5 separate regions of the Homo sapiens genome follow, and regions 2, 3, 4 and 5 are each linked to region 1. The links are contacts of gene promoters, found by promoter capture Hi-C in human tissues and cell types (Jung and others, 2019). All regions are on one chromosome and are shown on one strand. The core of a region is centred on a gene start or on the middle of the fragment in contact, and the rest is flanking DNA. Distances in the headings are between cores, read along the strand shown.

What was found. The method cuts DNA at HindIII sites, captures the fragments that hold promoters and counts their contacts. A contact is called where the count stands out against the background at its distance.
Region 2: a contact is called between the fragment with the promoter of AMBRA1 here and the fragment with the promoter of F2 in region 1, in 1 of the 25 tissues and cell types used here (spleen).
Region 3: a contact is called between a fragment that was not itself captured here and the fragment with the promoter of F2 in region 1, in 3 of the 25 tissues and cell types used here (ovary, stomach and thymus).
Region 4: a contact is called between a fragment that was not itself captured here and the fragment with the promoter of F2 in region 1, in 2 of the 25 tissues and cell types used here (small bowel and thymus).
Region 5: a fragment that was not itself captured here is called in contact with the fragment with the promoter of F2 in region 1 in 9 of the 25 tissues and cell types used here (H1 embryonic stem cells, IMR-90 fibroblasts, aorta and 6 more).

The regions. Positions count from the first base shown.
Region 1 is chr11:46,716,504-46,721,345 of GRCh38, forward strand. It overlaps F2 (coagulation factor II, thrombin), which reads left to right and starts at 2,710. Exons shown (of 14, transcript NM_000506.5): 1 at 2,710-2,811; 2 at 3,199-3,359; 3 at 4,020-4,044; 4 at 4,287-4,337. The coding sequence starts at 2,733. The HindIII fragment of the contact is 9,646 bases long and covers 1-4,842 here.
Region 2 is chr11:46,592,165-46,597,006 of GRCh38, forward strand. AMBRA1 (autophagy and beclin 1 regulator 1) reads right to left here and starts at 1,859. Exons shown (of 18, transcript NM_001387011.1): 1 at 1,664-1,859. RefSeq lists enhancers at 1,611-2,111, 1,614-2,043. The HindIII fragment of the contact is 25,136 bases long and covers 1-4,842 here.
Region 3 is chr11:46,811,402-46,816,243 of GRCh38, forward strand. It overlaps CKAP5 (cytoskeleton associated protein 5), which reads right to left. Exons shown (of 44, transcript NM_001008938.4): 4 at 4,797-4,842. Among named protein-coding and RNA genes, the nearest start is that of CKAP5, 32 kb to the right of the region's middle. The HindIII fragment of the contact is 3,118 bases long and covers 1,291-4,408 here.
Region 4 is chr11:46,635,065-46,639,906 of GRCh38, forward strand. The region is part of intron 2 of ATG13 (autophagy related 13); the gene reads left to right. Among named protein-coding and RNA genes, the nearest start is that of ATG13, 20 kb to the left of the region's middle. The HindIII fragment of the contact is 9,077 bases long and covers 1-4,842 here.
Region 5 is chr11:46,782,474-46,787,315 of GRCh38, forward strand. CKAP5 (cytoskeleton associated protein 5) reads right to left here. Exons shown (of 44, transcript NM_001008938.4): 17 at 2,015-2,200; 18 at 801-895. Among named protein-coding and RNA genes, the nearest start is that of SNORD67, 22 kb to the left of the region's middle. The HindIII fragment of the contact is 4,962 bases long and covers 1-4,842 here.

The sequences.
Region 1 (4,842 bases), core at 1,460-3,959:
TCTCAGTCTCCCGAGTAGCTGGGATTACAGGTGTGTGCCACCATGCCTAGCTAATTTATGTGTTTTTAGTAGAGACGGGGTTTCACTATGTTGGCCAGGCTGGTCTCGAACTCCTCACCTTGTGATCGGCCCGCCTCGGCCTCCCAAAGTATTGGGATTACAGGCGTGAGCCACTGCACCTGGCCTACAGTAATTTTATAGCAGCCCAGGCTAAGATAGCCATTTCTGGGTATAAGAATGTCATATACTGAACAGGCCTGCAACTGTGAGTAAAAGTCTGCAAAGAGGCCGGGCAGTGGCTCATACCTGTAATCCCAGCACTTTGGGGGGCCGAGGCAGGTGGATCACCTGAGGTCAGCAGTTCGAGACCAGCCTGACCAACATGGTGAAACCCCATCTCTACTAAAAATACAAAATTAGCTGGGCGTGGTAGTGCATGCTTGTAATCCCTAGCATGCACTTGGGAGCTACTTGGGAGGCTGAGGCAGGAGAATCACTTGTACTCAGGAGGCCGAGGTTGCAGTGAGCTGAGATCACGCCACTGCACTCCTTTCTGGGTGACAGAGTGAGACTCCATCTCAAAAAAACAAAACAAAACAAAACAAAAACAAACAAAAAAACCCAACAGGTAGGTAGCAGTGGTTCACGCCTGTAATCCCCACTTTGGGAGGCTAAAGTGGGCAGATCACCTGAGGTCAGGAGTTCACGTCCAGCCTGGGCAACATGGTGAAACTCTGTCTCTACAAAAATACAAAAATTAGCCAGGCATGATGGCGGGTGCCTGTAGTTCCAGCTATTCGGGAGGCTGAGGCAGGAGAATCGCTTGAACCTAGGAGGTAGAGGTTGCAGTGAGCCGAGTTCACGCTATTGCACTCCAGCCTCCATCTCAAAAACAAAACAACAAAAACCCAAAATATATATTATAATTTTATTTTATTTATTCAATTTTATTTTATTTTATTTTATTTTTCTAGGAACAGGTCTCATTCAGGCCAGGCATGGTGGCTCACGCCTGTAATCCCAGCACTTGGGAGGCCGAGGTGGAGGTGGGCGGATCACCTGAGGTCAGGAGTTCGAGACCATCCTGGTCAATGTGGCGAAACCCCATCTCTACTAAAAATACAAAAATTAGCCAGGTGTGGTGGCACACGCCTGTAATTCCAGCTACTTGGGATACTGAGTCAGGAGAATCACTTGAACAGGGAGATGGAAATTGCAGTGAGCCGAGATTGTTCCACTGCACTCCAGCCTGGGTGACAGGGCGAGACTCCGTCTCAAAAAAAAAAAAAAAAAAGAAAGAAAGAAAGAAAGAAAGAAACAGGATCTTACTCTGTTACCCAGGCTGGAGTACAGTGGTGCAATCATAGCTCACTGCAGCCTGGAACTCCTGGGCTCAAGTGATCCTCCTGCCTCAGCCTCCTCAGTAGCTCAGACTGCAGGCATGCACCACCATTCCCAGCTAATTTTTAATTTTTTTTTGGTAGAGATGAGGGTCTTGCTATGTTGCCCAGGCTGGTCTCAAACTCCTGGCCTCAAGCGATCCTGCCATGTCGGCCTCCCAAAGTGTTGGGATTACAAGTGTGAGCCACTATGCCTGGCCTAAAAATATATATATGAAAATATATAAGAAATGGGCCTCCCAGGAATTAAGGTGTTTGCGGGAGTCCTGGTCCCCAGTTTTTCTGCCAACACTCCCTGTTCCCACACATGACCTGGTCCAGACCCCAAACAGCCAGGCCCAAAGGACAGGTGAGGCGAGGCGAGAACTTGTGCCTCCCCGTGTTCCTGCTCTTTGTCCCTCTGTCCTACTTAGACTAATATTTGCCTTGGGTACTGCAAACAGGAAATGGGGGAGGGACAGGAGTAGGGCGGAGGGTAGGGTAGGACCAGAAGCCTCTCTAGGCCTGCCATGGGGCAGGCAGCCAGGGAGAAGGAGGGCCCCTCAGTGGAGACCCAGGGATTTCAGTAGCCCCTGTTCCGGGACAGGCGCAGGTCCTGGGAGGTGACAGAAGATAGACTAAAGGCCCAAGAGTCCCTGGACCTGACTCCTCCCAGGCAGCTGCCACACACAAACACACCTCCAGGCACCCTGGACAGGAAGGAGGAGAAATGGGCCCCTCCTCCAGTGGCTGAGAAGCTGGGGCAAATGTTGGCTGTTCCTATCCCTGGTGCATCCCATGGCGAGGGGCAACTTCCATCAGGCCACACCTTTTATCTTTGTCTCTATTTTTGATATCTGTGTATTATGATTATACAAACCCCCACATTGGCCTATATGTGCAGATCTGATTAAGAACTTACGATATTCCATGGACATTCCATTCCTAATCTCCTTTAGTCCTCACAACAAAGTATTATTCCCATTGTATAGATGAGGAAACTGAGGCACACAGAGATGACAAGCAACCACCGCTATATGTTAGGATTCGAAGGAGCTCCAGGAAAGTCTCATAGCCCCACTGGCCAGAATGGGCTAAATCTCAGAGGGGGAGGGTGGGAGATGGGGGTGACAGTGACCTTTTTTGTGACTCCTCCTAGACCATCCATCCCTGCTCCCAGGAGGACCTGTCCTCCCAGATGGTGGAGATGGACAGGAGGACTATCTACCCACCCGTCCCCACGGCCCTGACCCTCTGACCTCACCCTCTCCGCTGATTTCTTCATGTTAGTTCAACATTAACCCAGAGGGGTCAGGACAGACAATTCCTCAGTGACCCAGGAGCTGACACACTATGGCGCACGTCCGAGGCTTGCAGCTGCCTGGCTGCCTGGCCCTGGCTGCCCTGTGTAGCCTTGTGCACAGCCAGCATGGTAAGGGAGTGCTTGCAGGCTGGAACAGGCTGGAGGACTGGGGTGTGGGCCCATGGGCTGGGGTCTCCTGGCTGGACAGAGCACACAGAGCTGGCCCCTAAGTAGGTCTCAGCCCCAGGCGGCCAGCTTAGGGAAGAAGTCAGGAGCTCAGGGCTGGAAAGAGAATGGCTGCTTCTCTCTTCCAATATAGGGAGCAGGCTGGGGGCAAGGGGCAGTGTAGGAGGGGCACAGGGGGCCACATTTAGCAGCCTTCCAGGCACTTCCACCAGCCCAGACAGCCTCTCTCAGAAGCCAGCAGGGGAGGGTGGGCTTGCTTCATGCCCCCAGAATGGCCAAGACTGCCTGTTCCTGAGGCCGCTGTCCCATGACCCCCCCACCGCCTTACAGTGTTCCTGGCTCCTCAGCAAGCACGGTCGCTGCTCCAGCGGGTCCGGCGAGCCAACACCTTCTTGGAGGAGGTGCGCAAGGGCAACCTGGAGCGAGAGTGCGTGGAGGAGACGTGCAGCTACGAGGAGGCCTTCGAGGCTCTGGAGTCCTCCACGGCTACGGTGAGCCTGGGCTGCTCGGACGGTGCCGGGGCCTCAGACCGGGCCCAACTCTAGACACTTCCACAGAGAAGCAAGCGAGGAACGCCACAGCCCCTTCGCTGCTCACAGCCTCATTTCAACTCTGAGCCCCTCCTCACAGGGCTGGCAAGAGGAGCGGCCTCAGCCTTTCCTGGGGGTCTCTGTGCCTGGACTGTGTCCCTGTGCAGCTCCATGACATGGGGAGGCCTCCACAGTCTTCAGACATCCACCTGCCCTGGAGCTCTGTGTCCACATGGCCTCCTCAGCGGCAGACTCCCACACCACCCTTGAGGGGTGGGACTCTGGGGAGGCCACCACAAGCCCCCGGGCTCAAGACTCAGTGTTCCTGGAGCTCTGTGTCGCCTTTCCTGTCTGTAGGGCTCTGCCAGGGTCCCACTGCCCCCTCTCCTCCCATCTCCCCCAGCCTCTTTCAGTCTCGGTGTGTGTGTTGGAGGAACTCCCCTATCCTCAAATATTCTTCTCCTTTTGGAAACAAAAGTAGGAAACTCTGCCACAAACCTCCCCAGAGCCTGCCCCCTGCGTGACCAGGGTAAAGGAAAGTGTGAGGAGGAGACATAACATTTACTAAAACAACACAAAACAGGAGCTGCCGTAGCCTCACTCCCAGCCCTTGTTTTTCAGGATGTGTTCTGGGCCAAGTACACAGGTGAGCACCGGGAAGGATTTGCCCCAGGAAGGGAGGCCTGGGGACCCCAGTGAGAGAATTCTACCCAGAGAATCTTCTGCTGCACCTAGCCATCCACCCATCCACCCCTTCCCCACTCCTTCCTTGGTCCCTCCCATCTGTTCATCCATCTTTCTGTTTCTCACCAACATCCCATCCACCCTGACTCCAGCTCATCCTGGCCATACCCCAATCCCAAAGGTAAACACCTGGGTCTTTTCCAGCTTGTGAGACAGCGAGGACGCCTCGAGATAAGCTTGCTGCATGTCTGGAAGGTGAGCAACTGACACGGGTTTGGGGAGCAGGACATGGAGGGGAGCCTGGGAGAAGAGCTCAGGGGTGGGTTTGGAGTGTGGCTGGTGGAGGCCGAGGCAGTCCCCAGCATCTGACATTGCTCCCATTCCTGGGGTCAAGATGTCTCTTTGTACCTGGCTCTGTGTCTGGCATGCGAACGAATGAATGAATGAATGGACTAATGAATTAATGTTTTTTTTTTTGAGACAGAGTCTCGCTCTGTTGCCCAGGCTGGAGTGCAGTGGCACGATCTTGGCTCACTGTAAACTCCGCCTCCCGGGTTCAAGCAATTCTCTGCCTCAACCTCCCAAGTAGCTGGGATTACAGGTGCTCGCCACCACGCCTGGCTAATTTTTGTATTTTTAGTAGAGACGGGGTTTCACCATGTTGGCCAGGCTGGTCTTGAACTCCTGACCTCGTGATCCACCCACCTCGGCCTCAAAGTGCTGGGATTATAGAAGTGAGCCACCGCGCCTGGCCATGAAT
Region 2 (4,842 bases), core at 609-3,108, 130 kb before region 1:
CCTCAGGTGATCCACCTGCCTTGGCCTCCCAAAGTGCTGGGATTACAGGAGTGAGCCACTGCGCCCGACAGGCTGAATTTTTTTTTTTCCAAGAATGAAGTGACACAAATTAGGATCATGGTACTGAATCCGATGAAAATAACAGACTTAGTCCCCAGACTTTCCAAGCTGGGAAGGAAAAGGGAACCACAAAGGAGTTCCCAAAGCGTTAACCTTTCATTTAAATATCTCAATATTTGAATGATTTCTACACACAGCCTTTTTTAGCTTTTGTATGTGCAGTGACCAAACTACTAATCAAATACAACAAAACTGGGCGGGCGCGGTGGATGCCTGTAATTCCAGCACTTTGAGAGGCCGACGTGGACGAATCACTTGAGGCCAGGAGTTCAAGACCAGCCTGGCCAACATGATGAAACCCCGTCTTTACTACAAATACAAAAATTAGCCGAGTGTGGTGGCGCGCGCCGGTACTTCCAGCTACTCGGGAGTCTGAGGCAGGGGAATCGCTTGAACCCGGGAGGCAGAGGTTGCAGTGAGCCAAGATCGCGCCACTGCACTCCAGTTTGGGCGACAGAGCTAGCCTGTCTTAAAAAAAAAAAAGAAAAAAGAGAGACAGACTCCTTGGGTTTCCATTGGATACTCCCCAGAAAGCAGACCCTCACAGGACAAGCGTTTGCCTTCAAAGTCTTGACCATCCTCTACTAGACTCTAACCTCTAACCACAAACACCATAGTTATAAGATTTCCAAAGAGGCTGGGGAGAAGGAGGATAAATCAACCAGGAAACAATGTAGACAACAAGGTTATCAGGAAACAAAGTAGACAACAAGGTTATCAGGAAACAAAGTAGACAACAAGGTTATCAAGAAACAAAAAGAAACTGTCATTGCTACACTAGTTAAAATGATACAGACTTTGAAAAGCAAAACAGCCAAGAAACCACATGGTTCCTTTACTTCTGAAGCCTCTTGTGACAGGATCTATATTCCTAACAGTCTATATTCCTAGGAAAATTGGGATCACAGACGATCAAACAATAACTCACTGTTTTCATAACTTGACTGGTAAGTGGGGGGAAGGGAATTGGTAAACGACAAAAAGTGACTTACAGTGAATTTAATGATCTGTTGGGGATATGTGGGGAAGTCACGTCCCAGACATCAGCCTCAGTTTACCCACCCAGAAAAAGGCGAGAACATAACACTTCGCTCAGAAGAGCCAGAGGGCCTTGTTCCATAAGCCTCCACCTACTCAAAGGTCCCTTCAAAGGCTGGACTCAGTAGGGGTCCCCAGTGCAATTGAGGCATGACACCCGGAGACTTCGGGGTGGGGGGAAAAGGAGAAAGGAAGGAGGGTCAAAGTGCGCAAAGCTCTATCGGTTCCTGGAAAGCCATTTTCGCCACACACTGGGGGTGCCCTAGACCCAACATCTCCTCCCTAAAGAACCACACCGGGAAGCCCCAGCAACTCTCCCTCCTTTCGGCTTCTCCCTCGGTTCCGGGCTGCCCCTCCGGCCGCGCCCCTCAACGCAGTCCGGTAGCCCCTCCTCTGGCAGTGTCACGGCGGCCGGCCAGCCTGCCCACCCGCCGGCGCCAAGGTCTTCTCAACCCCGCGGCGGAAGGATGCCGGGCTGGGCCTCCCAGGCTCCTCCTGGGCCTACCTGCAAGGCAGACGGGAGCTCGGTTTGCAGTCCAGCGAACGGGCTGAGCCACAGGGAAAAAGAAAGAGGAGACAGGAATAAAGGAAGGGGTCCGTTCTACCGACCGGCAGGAGAAGGCGGCTTGAGCGCGGGGCCTCGCGGACAACTCAGCCCTCGACCCGGCGCCGCCGCCGCTCAGGAGACATCAAGCAAGAAGACGGCGCAAAAGATCACCGAATACAAGAACGCCCCAGACATCAAAGGAGGAACGCCCAAGCAATCGTTCAAGGAACCACAGCCGAGCGCCGAAAAACAGCTCAACTCCTACTCAAGGTCCGGCTCCTGTCTGAGGCGTAAATAAACAAACCCAGATCATAAGCCACGGGTTAAAAAAGAGCCTGCACTTCTGCCATTTTCTGTGGGTCGCCGGCTGTTAAAGTTCTTTAGAGAACTGGAGTTTCTCGTGAATGTGTTGAAGATCAAATCATAGCGCAATAACACTTGTTGTGTAACTATAGTCCCCCAACTGTTCTATGGACTCCCAACACTCTTTATCCCAATTGAGCAAATTAGTTAACCTCATTTGACCCTTAGTTTCCTAACAGAGCAGTGAGGGGAATTAAAAATCATAGAGACAGAAAACGAGAGAGAATTCAAGCTGAGGAACAAAATGAACAGTCTACGTAAAAGCTCCAGTTTAGTCCCCACAAAGCATGACCAAGAGAAGCTGGGAAAACCCAGAATTATGTAGCCTGACCTTAAGGCAGGGGGAAAAAAAGCACACGGATTGCTTTTCTCTTTTATTTTCTTCCAAAGGCCTAGAGCCACAGGTGTGCTTCTTACATAATAAGCAAAAGTCTCTTTGGGTTCAGAACCTGATAAAGTGTTGACATTTTCATCACCACAACAATGGCTTTTTTCTGTAGTCTCTTAGTTGATAAATGAATATGCTCAGCACAAATATGGATTAATATGTACATCCTAGATGTGATTCAATAAATCACAAAGATCACTGCAAGTATGGTTACCAATTGTGAGCAATCATAGTCTACCTTACCTGCTCCTAGGGAGGTTTACACCCTTCCCCACTACTCAGAGAGGAAGGGTGTAAAAAGGAAACAAGATAGTCCCAGTTTGTCGGGCGCAGCGGCTCACGTCCATAATTCCAGCACTTTAGGAGACGAGGCTGGTGGATTGCTTTGAGCCCTGGAGTTCAAGACCAGCCTGGGCAACATGGTGAGACTCCAGTCTCTATAAAAAAAAAATAAATAAATACAAAAAGTTAGCCGGGCCTGGTGGCTCCCGCCTGTAGGCCCAGCTACTCGGGAAGCTAAGATGAAAGGATATCCTGAGCCCGGGAGGTGGAGGCTGCGATGAGCCATGATCACACCATTGCACTCCAGCCTGATCTATGGAGCAAGACCCTATCTTAAATTTTTTTTTTTTTAAATGCCGGGCGCAGTGGCTCACGCCTGTAAGCCCAGGACTTTGGGAGGCCGAGGCAGGTGGATCACGAGGTCAGGAGTTTGAGACCAGCCTGGTCAAGATGGTGAAACCCCGTCTCTACTAAAAATACAAAAATTAGCCGGTCGTGGTGGCGGGTGCCTGTTATCCCAGCTTTTCGGGAGGCTGAGGCAGGAGAATCGCTTGAACCCAGGAGGCGGAGGTTGCAGTGAGCAGAGATCGTGCCACTGCACTCCAGCCTGGGCGACACAGCAAGACTCCGTCTAAAAAAAAAAAAAAAAAAAAAAAAAAAAAAAAAAAAAAAAAAAAAAAAGTCCCAGCCTTTGAAGACTTTAATTAAACTCAAAGAGCACATCCTTACAGTATTAGCCTTTTTTAAATAATGTATTGGCACTTTACAAAAATCTCCTCTAAGTCTTTGAAAATACTGCCCAGGCCGGGCGCGGTGGCTCACGCCTGTAATCCCAGCACTTTGGGAGGCCGAGGCGGGCGGTTCATGAGGTCAGGAGATTGAGACCATCCTGGCTAATGCGGTGAACCCCGTCTCTACTAAAAATACAAAAAATTAGCCAAGCGTGGTGGCAGGAGCCTGTAGTCCCAGCTACTCGGGACTACAAAAAAAAAAAAAAAGAAAGAAAGAAAACTCTCCTTCTTGGAGAGGCTTGTGGAGCATAGCTATAGCCCTCATTCAAATTTTACTCAGATAACTACATTGTTTTTGTTTCTTTGTTTTTTGAGACGGACTCTCGCTCTGTCGCCCAGGCTGGAGTGCAGTGGAGCGATCTTGGCTCACTGCAACCTCTGGCTCCTGTGTTCACGCCATTCTCCCGCCTCAGCCTCCCGAGTAGCTGGGACTACATGCGCCCGCCACCACGCCCGGCTTTTTTTTTTTTTGAGGATTCTCGCTCTGTCACCCAGGCTGGAGTGCAGTGGCATGATCTCGACTCACTGCAAGCTCCGCCTCCCGGGTTCACGCCATTCTCCCGCCTCAGCCTCCCGAGTAGCTGGGACTACAGGCGTCCGCCACCACGCCCAGTTAATTTTTTGTATTTTTAGTAGGGATGGGGTTTCACCGTGGTCTCGATCTTCTGACCTTGTGATCCGCCCGCCTCGGCCTCCCAAAGTGCTGGGATTACAGGGGTGAGCCACTGCGCCCGGCCACGCCCGGCTAATTTTTTTGTATTTTTAGTAGAGACGGGGTTTCACCGTGTTAGCCAGGATGGTCTCGATCTCCTGACCTCGTGATCCACCCACCTCGGCTTCCCGAAGTCCTGGGATTACAGGCTTGAGCCACTGCGCCCGGCCAACTACATTGTTTTGAAACCTTGATTGCAGTAAAAAAAACTAATTTCACTGCTCTAGACATTTTCCTTTTTTCAAAAGCTGGAGACTTTTGAGTAAAACACCTGAAAGTTCGGCAAAGATTTATCTAAAATCATCATCTGAAAATGAAAATATTTGCAACGCTGAGTCTAGACTGCTTTGTGAGACCATGGAAAGGGTGGCTTATTCTATGGGCAGAGTTGCACCTTTACAGATAAATTTCCTTTAGAGAACTGTTCTTTTCAAATATGTATGTATATATATGGATTTAAGCTTCAGTTTGACAGCAAACTACTGCATGTTCTTATGGAAATGTTTATTTAGACTGAAGAGTGGATCACAAGAGATCAGGAGTTGAAACCATCAACCTTGCGGGAATCTCCTCACACTAGAGGAAAAACTGTAAAAAAGAA
Region 3 (4,842 bases), core at 1,600-4,099, 95 kb after region 1:
CCATTTTTAAACAAACTTTCTAGGTAAGCAGACTAGGAATAATTAAAACCTATAAAGGATCAACATGTTTAATACCCTTTTTTTTTCTTTTTCAGATGGCATTTTGCTCTTGTTGCCCAGGCTAGAGTGGTATGGCATGATTGCAGCTCACTGCAACCTCTGCCTCCTGAGTTCAGGTGATTCTCCTGTCTCAGTCTCCCAAGTAGCTGGGGTTACAGGCATGCGCCACCACGCCCAGCAAATTTTTGTATTTTTAGTAGAGATGGGGTTTCACTATGTTGGCCAGGCTGGTCTGGAACTCCTGACTTCAGGTGATCCACCCGCCTCAGCCTCCTAAAGTGCTGGATTACAGGCGTGAGCCACCACACCCAGCCTAATACCACAAATATGTATGTATATACATATAAAAGCTTACAAATATAAACTAGTTTATAAATATTTACATGAATGAAATCTACTTTTAATAAACCTTTAATAGCTCCTATAATTAAAGTGATTCATTTACCTAGATAGATCACAAATCTTGGCAATATTTTGTTCCTGACTTTGTGGCTATCACACTATAACTCTGGGCATCTTAAATCTTTCTTTACTTCAGTTTTCTATGGGGAAAATGTTGCATTTTGACTTCTTTCAAAAAGCATATTTGGCCAGGCGCAGTGGCTCACACCTATAATCCCGGCACTTTGGGAGGCTGAGGCAGGTAGATCACCTGGGGTCAGAAGTTCAAGGCCAGCCTGGCCAACATGGTGAAACCCTGTCTCTACAAAAATACAAAAATTAGCCAGGCACGATAGTGGGCGCCTGTAATCCCAGCTACCTGGGAGACTGAGGTGGAAGAATCGCTTGAACCCGGGAGGCAGAGGTTGCAGTGAGCCGAGATCGCGCCACTGCACTCCATCCAGCCTGGGCAACAGAGCAAGGTTCCGTCTCAAAAAAAAAATAAAATTAAAAAAAAGTGTGTTTAACCTTACATATCTGTCATAGATTACATTTTCAAGTTCCCAACTGGCCAATTTTAGCTATCTAATATCACTATTAACATTTGTGAGTATCAGATTCTGGAGCAGGAGAGATTTATTTATGAAAGAACACTGAAATTCTGTATGAGTAGTAGGACCCAAATTATTATTTATCTATTATCTAATGTGCACAAATTTATCTCATGTGAGCAAATGCAACAAAATTACTCAGTAATAGCTACTAGTGTACTCCAACGATTTTTTTTTCTTGGTTTTTGTTTTTACTTTTTTGGAGACAGGGTCTCACTATGTCATCCAGGCTGGAATGCAGTGGTATGATCACAGCTCACTGCAGCCTCGACCTTCCCTGCTCAAGCTATTCTCCAGACTCAGTCCCCCAAGCAGCTGAGACTACAGAGGGGCACCACCATGCCCGGCTAATTTTTTTTTTGTATTTTTTGTAGAGACGGGGTTTCTCCTTGTTGCCCAGGCTGGTCTTGAACTCCTGGGCTCAGGCAATCTGCCTGCCTCAGCCTCCCAACCCAAAGTGCTGGGACAATACAGGCATGAGCCACTGCTCCTGGCCTTAATTATTATTATTATTTTTGAGATAGTGTCTCACTCTGTTAACCAGGCTGGAGTACAGTGACACAATCATAGCTCACAGCAGCCTCACCCCCTGGGCTCAAGTAATCTTCCTGCCTCCTGAGTTGGTGGGACTACAGGCACAATAAAAAAAGAATTTTTAATAAGATACCTGGCTATGTGATATAGTTTAAGTACAAATATCATGAGAATAACCTACATAATCTCTAAGATTTTTTAAAATGCTTTTATATTATTAAAAAAATTACATTTTAACTTGGCTCAGCTGACCTTTAAGATTAAACAAAAAATAAGAAATTATAGTGGCAATAAACCATTTTGTTTTAGGGATATTTAACATGGTGCCTGAAGAACCTAACATTTGAGATTTCTTAAATCTTCCTATATATTATTACTGTTTCATCTGAATCTTTTTTCTCTATCCTGGCCTCCTTCTGTAAGAAAAAAAAGATGGAGCAAGTCCACATGGAAAATAGACACCTTAATAAAATAAAACCTAATTTTGATACTAAACGTATTACTATAGAAAACACAAAAGGGTACTAGAAACCTGTTTTAGGTACCACAAATGTTTCTGGTCACCTGAAGCTCTCACTAACAAAGCTTTAGCAAGCTCTGGAACCCAGGATCAAGCAGTTTGGCCTCAAGGTTCTTGAGGGTCCCAGAGAGCTACCTAGTTAAACTATAGACTCTGAAATGCTTTAGGACAAATAAAGAACCACACAGGGATGGGACTACATAACAACATCTATGAAGAAAACATGAGATATACGTAACTTGTTATTTTCCTACCCTTATTCTCCCAGTTTAGCTAAAAAATGAAATAACCAGAGTACACAGCACTCCAGACTAGAAACTTGTAATTTAAAGGTAGAAGATTATAGGCCAGGTGCGGTTGCTTATGTCTGTAATCCCAGCACTTTGGGAGGCCGAGGTGGGATCACTTGATGCCAGGAGTTCCAGACCAGCCTGACCAACATGGAGAAACCCATCTCTATTAAAGAAAAAAAAAATTAGCTGGGTGTGGTGGTGCTCACCTGTAGTCCCAGCTACTCAGGAGGCTGGAGGCATGAGAATCGCTTGAACCCAGGGGCGGAGGTTGCAGTGAGCTGAGATCGTACCACTGCACTCCAGTCTGGGTGACAGAGCGAGACCTTGTCTCAAAAAAAAAAAAAAAAAAAAAAAAAGATTACAGTATTTTTTAAAATTTAGACATCACTAAGGACACAAAAGATTTATTGATATAAGCATAGTTCTGATAACTAAGATGAGTCACTAAATTTCTAAGATAATAGAATGAGCATACTGTTTACTACTCAGAAAAACATCTGCTTACTATATTGTAATAGGCTAGAAACAAGGAAACTTCATTCACGTAAGAATCTAAGCAAGTCAAATTTTATAAAAGTACATTATGAGCAAAGCAAAAAACAATATTAAAGACCTATAAATCAAAGATCATTCAACAAAATACAAGAGTTTTTATACTTTCACAGAAGATAAACACCAAAGGAAACATTTTTCTCCAAGATGTAGGTCATACACAAAATCATGAGAGGTGAGATGGATGATCTTCATTCCGTGAGGATTTTACTACAGCTGCTTTCTAAAATATCTGATATAGACAGTACTTGGGGACAGGATACCAGATTAGAAGAACTGCCAAGTCTGAACAAACTAGTGATCTGTCTAATTCAGATTTCCATAGCAAATTACATCCACTTGTTCCTGAAAGAGATCCTATTCATGAAAAATTTCATGGCCAAACAAGAAAGTCTAGGGTTGAAAAGAACTTACTACATAAGAGCAAAAGTTACTTTTCTATTTGCTTTCACTGTGCGTCTCTTTAAAGGCATATAGCATTTGCTTCTACTTTACTAAAAAGGCACCTAAATAAAGGTTAGCTTTAGTCCACAAACTTTATCTTTAGCCAACATCTCAAAGTATAGACTTCGAAAGTCTATACTTAAGATAGCAAGAGAAAAAGAGCTGCTTAAATACCCTGAGGAGTAGTTTTCCAACAAAAGGCCAGTACTTTTCTTTTCAGTGCTTTTCCACCAAAAGGCCAATTTTTAAAATGTATTTATTTATTTATTTTTGAGAGGGAGTCTTGCTTTGTCACCCAGGCTGTAGTGCAGTGGCATGATCTTGGGTCACTGCAACCTCTGCCTTCCAGGTTCAAGCAATTCTCCTGCCTCAGCCTTCCGAGTAGCTGGAATTACAGGCATGCGCCACCATGCCCAGCTAATTTTTTCGTATTTTTGGTAGAGACGTTTCACCACATTGGCCAGGCTGGTCTCAAACTCCTGACCTTGTGATCTGCCTGCCTTGGCCTCCCAAAGTGCTAGCATTACAGGAGTGAGCCACTGAGCCTGGCCATATTTATTTATTTTTTAAAGAGACAGGGTCTTGCTCTCTCACCCAGGCTGAATTGCAGTGGCACAATCACAGCTCAGTGCAGCCTAGAACTTCTAGACTCAAGAGATCCTCCCCACCTCAGCTTCTTTATAGTGGCAGGGGTCTTGCCATCTTGCCCAGGCTGGTCTTAAACTCCTGGCCCCAAGTGATCCTCCTAACTCAGCCTTCCAAAGTGCTGGGATTACAGGCATGAGCCACTGCCCCCAACTGAAAAGCCTAATTCTTAATCTGATAACAGGTCAGAAATCTCTATTCATCTTCATTAGAAAGGGATTCAGATAAAATAACTACACAACACACTTGAAGGCTAAAATTAGTCAACATGAAGTGCCACACTTGGGGAATGACTTTCCTTATTCAGGTCACTTTCTTGCTTGTTTTGGCATGCCAAGTCAAATTCTGCAGTTTCCATTTCTGTTTAAACCCGGAATCCAAACTCAATTGAGATACTCTAGTTCAGGGATCCCTAACCCCTGGGCTGTGGCCAGTACAGTGGCCTGTTAGGAACCAGGCACACAACAGGAGGTGAACAGCTACCAAGCGAGAATTACCCCCTGAGCTCTGCCTCCTGCCAGATCAGCAGGGCATTAAGGTTCTCATACGAGTGCAAACCCTACTGTGAACTGCACATGTGAGGGATCTAGAGTGCATGCTCCTTATGAGGTGGAACTGTTTCATCTCAAAACGACCCCCCCATCCCCCCAACACACAATTCTTCCATGGAAAAATTGTCTTCCATGAAACTGGTCCCTGGTGCCAAAAAGGTTGGGGACTGCTGCTCTAGTTAACAAAGCTAAAACAAAGTCTTACCTTAAGGCTTTCCTCAGTGTCTCTATACAGGCCACTATGATCTTGG
Region 4 (4,842 bases), core at 849-3,348, 82 kb before region 1:
GGGTGCTGTCTGAACTCATGGCAGCCTCTGCCTCCCAAGTTCAAGCGATTCTCGTGCCTCAGCCTCCCAAGTGGCTGGGATTACAGGCTGCGGCACCACTCCTGGCTAATTTTTGTATTTTTAGTAGAGACGGGTTTTGCTATGTTGGCCAGGCTGGTCTCGAACTCCTGACCTCATGTGATCCCCTGCCCTCAGCTTCCCAAAGTGCTGGGATTACAGGCGTGAGCCACCGAGCTTGGCCTTTTAAAAGTTTTATTTTAATTAAGACATAATAATTGTTGTACATATTTATAGGATACAGTGATGTTTTGATAAATATATACATTGTGTAATGATCAAATCAGGGTAATTAGGATTGCCTGAGTCCAGGAGTTCAATACCAACCTGGCCAACATAGAGAGACCCCCATCTCTTTTTTAAAAAATTGCATAGCAAGAGTTGCAGGATTTAGTAACTGGATAGTTAATAGCAAAGGGCAGAAAAAAGGAAGTTGTTCAATTGCAGGTTTCTTTAATGTTTGTATCAAATTTACCTTTGTATTCATAGGAGCACTCAAAGAAAGAATTTTGCAAAGAGCAAAGCGTAAAGTAAACCTTACATACATTTATCTTGTAGAGGATGAATTGACTGCTTGGTTAACTGGACCTAAGGGAACACATAGGCCTGGGAGATAACTTTTTCCCTAGTGGAGACTGCACCCTTTTTGGCTCAATAACTGTAGTTACATAATCCTTTCAATGCTACCAGTTGTACAAAAAGTCATTGGAGCCATTGTGCCGTTATAATGATTGCATTGGTAGATAATCTGATGGTGATAATCCAATTCTTACCTTTAGTGTAAGATAAGGGCAGTATAATCCTGCAGCGCATTTCTTTCTTTCTTTGTTTTTCTTCTTCGTGAGACAGGGCCTTGCTCTGTCACCCAAGCTGGAGTACAATGGCACAGTTGTTAGTGTTCTTTTTAACCAAAATTAGGAATGTCTGAAGTGGGTATATGTTTCAAATGCAGCCAGATCTACAAATGATAGATTCCAGTAGGTAAGTCATTTATAGTTTGGATCGCTTTAGGCCATTAACCTGTTCTTGATCACGGTGGACTATCCTGTGGCATCGTATTCCAATAATTATTTCCTCTCTCACATCTTTTATTTCTCCTTCATTGACTTCTTGTCTCTCCCTATAAATTTGTTTAGATATCCCTATCCTGGGAGGGCCAGGCGCAGTAGCTCACACCTGTAATCCCAGCACTTTGGGAGGCAGAGGCGGGTGGATCATGAGGTCAGGAGATCGAGACCATCCTGGCTAACACAGTGAAACCCCGTCTCTACTAAAAATACAAAAAAATTACCTGGGCATGGTGGCAAGCACCTGTAGTCCCAGCTACTCAGGAGACTGAGGCAGGAGAATGGCGTGAACCCAGGAAGCGGAGCTTGCAGTGAGCCGAGATCATGCCACTGCACTCCAGCCTGGAGGACAGGGCGAGACTCCGTCTCAAAAAAAAAAAAAAAAAAAAAAAAGCCAGGCAAAGAGTATATACTGTATGATTTAATCTTTTTTCCTTTTTTTGTTGGGGGTAGAGATGGAGTTTCACTATGTTGCTCAGATTGTTCTTGAACTTTGGGCCACAAGCGATCCTCCTGCCTCAACCTCCCAAAGAGCTGGGATTACAGGTGTCAGCTGCCACGCTGGGCCTATGTGATTTAGTTGATACAGTTTTTTTTTTTCTTTTGAGGTGGAGTCTCATTCTGTCACCAGGCTAGAGTGTTAATTCTCCTGCCTCAGCCTCCCGAGTAGCGGGGACTACAGGCGCACACCAACACGCCTCAGCTAATTTTTGTATTTTTAGTAGAGACGGGGTTTCACCATGTTGGCTAGGATGGTCTCGATCTCTTGACCTTGTAATTAGCCTGCCTTGGCCTCCCAAAGTGCTGGGATTACAGGTGTGAGCCACTGCGCCCAGCCATTGAGAAAGAATTCTACAAACTGCAGATTAAGGATCAGAGGTTTCCTAAGGATAAGGGGTATTAAGGAGTGGCTAAAGGGAGGCATGAGGAAACTTTTGGGAACTATAGGGGTTCACTATTTTGTTTTTGGTGATGGTTTTACCATACATAAGTGTGTTGAATCCTATTAAATTGTATACTTTCAACATACTGTTTATTGAGAGCTACAACTCAGCTATTTTTATTGATCTATTTTGAGATGGAGTCTCACTCTGTTTCCCAGGATGGGATGCAGTGGTGCAATAAAACAAAATGTTTCTACAAGAAAATACAGGAGAATATCTTCATGATTTGCAGATCAGCAAAAATGTATTTTCTTTTCTCTGAATTTTAATAATTTATTAATCTTTCGTTTGATGGTAAGCACTTTTTTATGTTCAAAAAATAATGTTTTTCCAGGGTTCAAGTGATTCTCTTGCCCAAGCCTCCCGAGCAGCTGGGATTACAGGTGTACACCACCACTCCTGGCTAATTTTTGTATTTTTTTGGTAGAGACAGGGTTTTGCCATGTTGGCCAGGATGGTCGCAAATTCCTGACCTCAAGTGATCTGCCTGCCTCAGCTTCCCAAAGTGCATCAAAACTATTTTTCATATGGAAATAGCACCCAGATGAGAACAAGCGCAGGCTATTCAGAGCAAAAGAGTCAGCTGTTATCATTTGCATTTGGCAGAGACTCAGAAGCGGACAGAGGAGTGGGAAAGCTTTATAGTGGGGGAAAAAGGGAAGGTTTCAAGTTTTCCCTAATTGGAGGCTCCTGGCATAGGGCAGCTGGCGGCAGGCTGACTAGAAGCAGGGCATCCTGTGTGATTGGTTAGGAGGTGCATATTTGGCTTTCTTCAGTTGGTCCTAAGTTGGAGGACGTGGGGACCAAAATGTAGGGTATTAAGTCCTAGCTCTTTTGGGCCAATGGTTTTTTGTTTTCATTTTTAATTTATGATTGATACATAATAATTATACATATTTATGGGGTTCGTGTTTTGATGCATGTCTAAATTGTGTAGTGACCTATTCAGGATAATTAGCATATTCATCATCTTAAACATTTATTGTTTCTTTGTGATGAGAACATTTAAAAACCTCTTTTTTGACTGGGCACGGTGGCTCATGTCTGTAATCCCAGAACTTTGGAAGGCTGAGGCAGGTGAATTGCTTGAGTCCAGGAGTTCAAAACCAGCCTGGCCAACATGGCATAACCCTGTCTCTACTAAAAATACAAAAATCAGCTGGGCGAGGTGGCGCATGCCTATAATCCCAGCTACTCAGGGAGGCTGAGGCACCAGAATCGCTTGAACCCGGGAGTCGGAAGTTGCAGTAAGCCAAGATCGCACCATTGCACTCCAGCCTGGGTGACAGAGTGAGACTCTGTCTCAAAAAACAAAACAAAAAAACCTCTCTTGCTATTTTGAAATATATATTATTGTTAACTCCAGTCATTCTGCTATGATATAGAACACTGGAACTTATTCCTCCTATCTAACTGTGGCCTTGTACCTGCTGACCAATTTCTCACCATCAACCTACACCCTACTTCCCCATCCTCTGGTAACTCCTATTCTACTCTCTACTACTTTAATAACAACATCTTAGATTCCACGAGTGAGATCATGCAGTATTTGTCTTTCCATGCCTGGCTTATTTCACCTAACATAATGCTCTCCAGGTTCATTCATGTTGCTGCAAATGACAGGATTTTACTCTTTTTCTGTGGCTAATTTCCATGATATATATATTCCTCTTTTTTTGTTTGTTTGTTTTTTGAGACAGAGTCTCACTCTGTCACCCAGGCTGGAGTGCAATGTTGTGGTATTGGCTCACTGCAACCTCCGCCTCCCAGGTGCAAGCCATTCTCCCACCTCAGCCTTCCAAGTAGCTGGGACTACAGGCATGTGCCACCACACTCGGCTGATTTTTATTTATTTATTTATTTATTTTTTTTTGAGAAGGAGTCTCGCTCTGTTGCCCTGGCTGGAGTGTAGTGGTGCAATCTCGGCTCACTGCAACCTCTGCCTCCCGGGTTCAAGTGATTCTCCTGCCTCGGCCTCCCAAGTAGCTGGGACTGCAGGCGCCACAACCATGTCTGGCTACTTTTTTGTATTTTTAGTAGAGACAGGGTTTTACTATGTTGGCTGGGCTGGTCTCGAACTCCTGACCTCATGATCCGCCTACCTTGGCCTCCCACAGTGCTGGGATTATAGGCGTGAGCCACCATGCCCAGCTTCCACATTTTCTTTATCTTCGTTGATAGACATTTAGGGTGATTCTGTATCTTGGCTATTGTGAATTGGGCCAATTGTCATAGTGGTTATTGTTGGCTTCCTGGACTAGTTGCTAGAGATAGTCTGACTTCATTGACTCATTAGTGTAGATAGTAGGTTGGCTTCTTGGGCTGGTTGCTTCAGGTTGTGGGTCAGAATTCTGTCTTTATATATATATATATTGCCCAGCTGTAACTGTAACAGGTCCATTGTTCATTTCGTGCAGCAAGTGAGTATGCGGAGACACTGGGTTGCAGCAGAGAAAAGAGGTTTAATTGTAGGGTTGCCAAAACAGGAAACAGGAGGAACCCTCAAATCCGCCTCCCAGGGAGTTTGTGGGTAGAGTTTCAATTTAAGAGTTTGAGAGTGGGCTGAAGTGTGGAGATCATTGGTCAAAGTATGCAGGGTAAAGTCATGGCACAGAGAGATGAAGAAGCTATATTCTTACACTGGTTTGGTTTCTCTGTGGGGGGGCCTTTAAACTGTTTGGTGTCAGCTATTCTGCTGTACTTCAGGATCTGCTTATGCAATTTTTTTTTTTTTTTTTTTTGACAGGGTCTTGCTCTGTCCCCCATGTTGGAGT
Region 5 (4,842 bases), core at 1,208-3,707, 66 kb after region 1:
TTGTTATTTGAGTAACTTCTAGAGTAGTGTTTTTTCAATCAGTAGAACTCAAAATACCCTTTTACAAGATATTAACAGGCATGTTGCAAAATGTAGCATGGCACAGAGAAAGGTAACATAGTATAGCAGCTACATCATTCTTTCTCCAAACCAGAATGCCTGGATTAAAATCTTGGTTTTGCCACTTTCCTAACTATGATGGGCCCAAATTACTTAAACTTTCTGTGCCTTAGTCCTCATCTATAAGATAGGGATAATATAATACCTCGCTTAGTTGTTATGATGATTAAATCAAATGAATTATGATTTAGAAAGTGCTTTTTAAAAGTACCTGGGATAAAGTAAACTGTATAAAGTTTTGTTTTAAATAAACAACCGTGCTCTATAAGCAAATAAGTTTGGGAACAGTGGGTTAAACAAAGTTAAACAAGCTCTTCTATTGCAGGATTTCTGACAGCAGTTAATTCGCCAAGGCATACTATAGGTCTTTAAACAAATGTAATTATATACAGAAATTTCCTAATGTATTTGACTAGAAATTCTTGGAACTGGATTTTCTGTGGGACAGCTATTAATGCTTAAGGAAAAATAACGTAGAGAACTCTTTCAGTGAACATCAAAAAGCAGGAACACAAGCCAATATAGACCTTTGAGAACAAAGGTAATTTTCTTTTATATAAATGAGACAATCCAGCTCTCACTCTTCAGAAATAAACAGCAATAGCTATTATTATAAACAGCACGACTTAGAGACTGACAGAACATTTAACTATTTTCCACTTGATTTCGTTCTGACTTACCCAGAAAAACCAAATTCTTTTATGGCATTTGATAGCCAATTCAGAGTTTCTGACTGATTTTTGGGATTCTTTTGTGAGAAAGCCATTGACACAACCTGAAAAGGGAAAAACAGCAGATCTGTGTTTTATCTCGTATTTCTTATAGAAATACAGCATGACATTAAGGCAGATGTGCATTAAACTAGTTTTCTGACGCTAAAACAACTGCAAGAATGCCTTAGGAACAAGAGTGAACCTACACAAGAAAATGAGGTGAAATGATAGTAGGACTAAAGGCATTCTGGACTATTTATAGCTTTGCAGCAATTACTCTGCATTATAATGTTTTTTTTTTTTTTTTAGAGACAGGGTCTTGCTCTGTCACCCAGGAGTACAGTGGCACAATCATCAATCATTGCAGCCTCAAGCTCGTGGGCTTTCACCTTCTATAGAATTTTTTGTTTATTTGTTTTGAGACAGTCTCACTCTGTTGCCCAGGCTGGAGTACAGTGGCGTGATCTCGGCTCACTGCCACGTCTGTCTCCCAGGTTCAAGTGATTCTCCTGCCTCAGCCTCCCTAGTAGCTGGCATTACAGGTGTGCACCACCACGCCTGGCTAATTTTTGTATTTTTGGTAGAGACGGGATTTCACCATGTTGGCCAGGCTGCTCTCAAACTCCTGGCCTCAAGTCATCCTCCTGCCTCGGCCTCCCAAAGTGCTGGGATTGCAGGTGTGAGCCTCTGTGTCTGACCGAATATTTTTGACTAAGATGAATTTTCATCACTAGGCAATAGAGTATTTTTTAAGGTAAAAATAAAAATGCAGTATCAAAGGGCCGGGCATGGTGGCTCACACCTGTAATCCCAGCACTTTGGGAGGCCGAGGCAGGCAGATCACCTGAGGTCAGGAGTTCGAGACAAGCCTGGCCAACGTGGCGAAATCCTGTCTCTATTAAAATTCAAAAATTAGGCAGGCGTGGTGGCAGGTGCCTGTAATCCCAGCTATGCGGGAGGCTGAAGCAGGAGAATCACTTGAACCCGGGAGGGTTGCAGTGAGCCGAGATTGCACCATTGCATTCCAGCCTGGGCGACAGAGTGAAACTCCATCTCAAAAAAAATGCAGTATCAAAAAAGATTTTACTTGAGAAGATAAAAACTAATGTTTAATTAGTAAGCTTAAAGTTTGGGGGAAAAAATTGGGAAAACTAGAGGAATAAGACTTCTGTGTCACTAACCTGTTCAGCAGTCCATGGTAACATACAGGCTTCGGCTATTGCTGTCATAGCTTCTTTTGCATTGTTCCCACATTTCACATCTCCAATCTTGTCCACAAGGCCATCTAATACAACCTGAGCTGACGTTTTGGAAAAATTTCCCTTCTGGGCAATCAAAGCAACTATATGAAGCTTCATTTGCATCACCTGAACAAGGATCAGTATCATAAAGCTAAGAGCAAGCCAAGGACATTTATTTATTTACTTGTATTAACAGCATGTAACAGATATGACATGGTTAGGGACAGCTGGAAACACAACTAAAGTAAAATCAGGATTTTAAACAAATATGCAAAATAATTTGTATCCTTTAATTGTTACCAATTACTTAACTGACAGTGAAGAGAGGGAAAAAAAGCTACTCAGTGTTCCAAAATACTAACAAGTAATATTGCACAGAAAGTTTATTAATTGAAAAATCTGATTTTTAAATTTTCCTCCTCTTATGATTATTTGCATTTAGTACTGAATACACACCCTAAAATACACAATAAATTACTATACTGACTGCATAACTGAGAATTACTACTAGGGCTGCCTACAAAAACACTACAACCCTCTTATACACACATGCAACACAGAACTTCAGAGATTTTAGAGAACTTGTTGGCTTTTAAGTATAAGAATAAAAAGATCTGTGGAAAATAATTTAAAGATATTATTGTGATGGCAGACCTATGGGATTAAGGACCCCTTTGCTCATAAATATTTTTCTTTGTACTGTGTGAATATTTTAACTTTTTTTGTTACGCCACTAGAAATCCTATTATACAGATTAATTTAGGTGACAAATACTCCCATTTATTTATGTATTTATTTGACAGAATCTTGTTCTGTCACCCAGGCTGGAGTGCAGTGGTGAGATATCAGCTTACTGCAACCTCTGCCTCCTGGGTTCAAGCGATTCTCATGCCTCAGCCTCGCAAGTAGCTGGGATTACTTACAGGCGCCCGCCACCACGCTTGGCTCATTTTTGTATTTTTAGTAGAGATGAGGTTTCACCATGTTGGCCGGGCTGGTCTCGATCTCCTGACCTCAAGTGGATCTCAAGTGGGATCTCACCTCAGCCTCTCCAAGTGCTGGGATTACAGGCGTGAGCCACTGTGCCCAGCCACACAAACATCCTCTTTTAAAATGCAATTATCGCCTGGCTCATGCCTGTAATCCCAGCACTTTGGTAGGTTGAGTCGAGGGGAATGCTTGAGCCCAGGAGTTCAAGACCAGCCTGGTCAATATGGAGGGACCCCAGCTCTACAACAAGTACAAAAATTAGTTGGGTATGGTGGCCCTCGCCTGTAGTCCCAGCTACTTGGGAGGCTGAGGTGGGAGGATCACTTGAACCCAGGAGGCTGAAGCTGCAGAGAGACATGTTGACACCACTGCACTATCTAGCCTGGGCAAGAGAGTGAGACTTTGTCTCAAACCCCCAAAATTTGACATAGCAGGCATGTGAAAAAATAAAAATTTAAAAAATTAAAAAAAAAATTCCCAAACCAAAAAACAAACCAAAGAAATGTAATTATCTTGGGTGGGACTTCTGCAATTGTGGAGTCAATACCTCTGAAAAACTGATCTTCCTCAAAAGCAACAAAGAACACTGGCAAAAACTATCCAAATCAACTTATCTCACAACTCTGAAAATTAAATAAGGCTTGTAACATACAAGAACCATTTAAAGAAAGGATGCTGAATTTTAGTAAGGACAGTGAGGTTTCTGGTGATTTAACTTGCCTTGCTCCCCTTTTCTTCCAGCTCCACAGTAGCCTTCAAAACCTGAAGTCTTGTAACCATGGCAACTATGAAAACCTAGAGCTGTGCAGCCACTGGCAGGTGGGGGGACAGCTCAGGTTTGGACCTCCTCAAAAAGTTTTGACCCAAAGTACTGTCTTGTCTGGCAGCTTCCTAGAAAAGCTCCATTTGAAAGTCCTGTTATTTGACTGGACTCTGGCTAGCTCAGTGGGAAAAGCCCTATCCCCAGGGATTTTGTTGAAAACAACGAAAACAATGAGTGGCAACTGTTTAACATCTAACATCAGAACTGTGTAAGTCCATAATACCAGCTGGGGGAACCCAGCTTGGTCAAAAACATAAAAGGACCTAGGGAATAAGATATCCACAGAGGACTTTGAGAATCTAGAAGGTCATGCGAATATTCAAGGTTATGTGTATGCCCAGGAAAGACTGAAAAGGGCCCTAATCTCTGACTGACCTTCAAGACCTTGCTTAAAAAGTGAATTCCAGGGTAAAGCTGTAAAGTGCCTGAGTATCTCTGGCATGACCCAGCGCGCACACACACACAAACATACACACCTTCCCCCTTGGCAGAGGGTGGGAGACAGATCACATTGGTTCAAGGCATTTAAGAAAATCTCTCCAGTCATTAGCTGGTCATTAAGTTAACCAAGGAGAGAGTCTTTGGTGGCTGAAAATCAAAATCACAATGAGATTACACTTCATACTGTCTATGAATTTGAGAAAAAAATTAGCAAGGTGTAGTGATGCACGCCTGTGGTCCCGACTACTTGGGAGGCTGAAGTGGGAGGATCTCTGGAGCCTAAGGTGTCAACACTGCAGTGAGCCACGTTTGCACCACCACACTCCAGCCTGGACAACTGAGTGAAGCCCTTTCTCAAAAAAAAAGAAGGTGGTGTGAGAGGAAGAGGGCACCTCAAGAATCTTTTAGAATATTTAGCCTTTGTGGAGCTGGCCTATACGAATAAGGTGCTATGTAACACAATGTAAGGGACACACAGTGTATGAGGGAGCTAAACATCCTAGACAGAAAACAA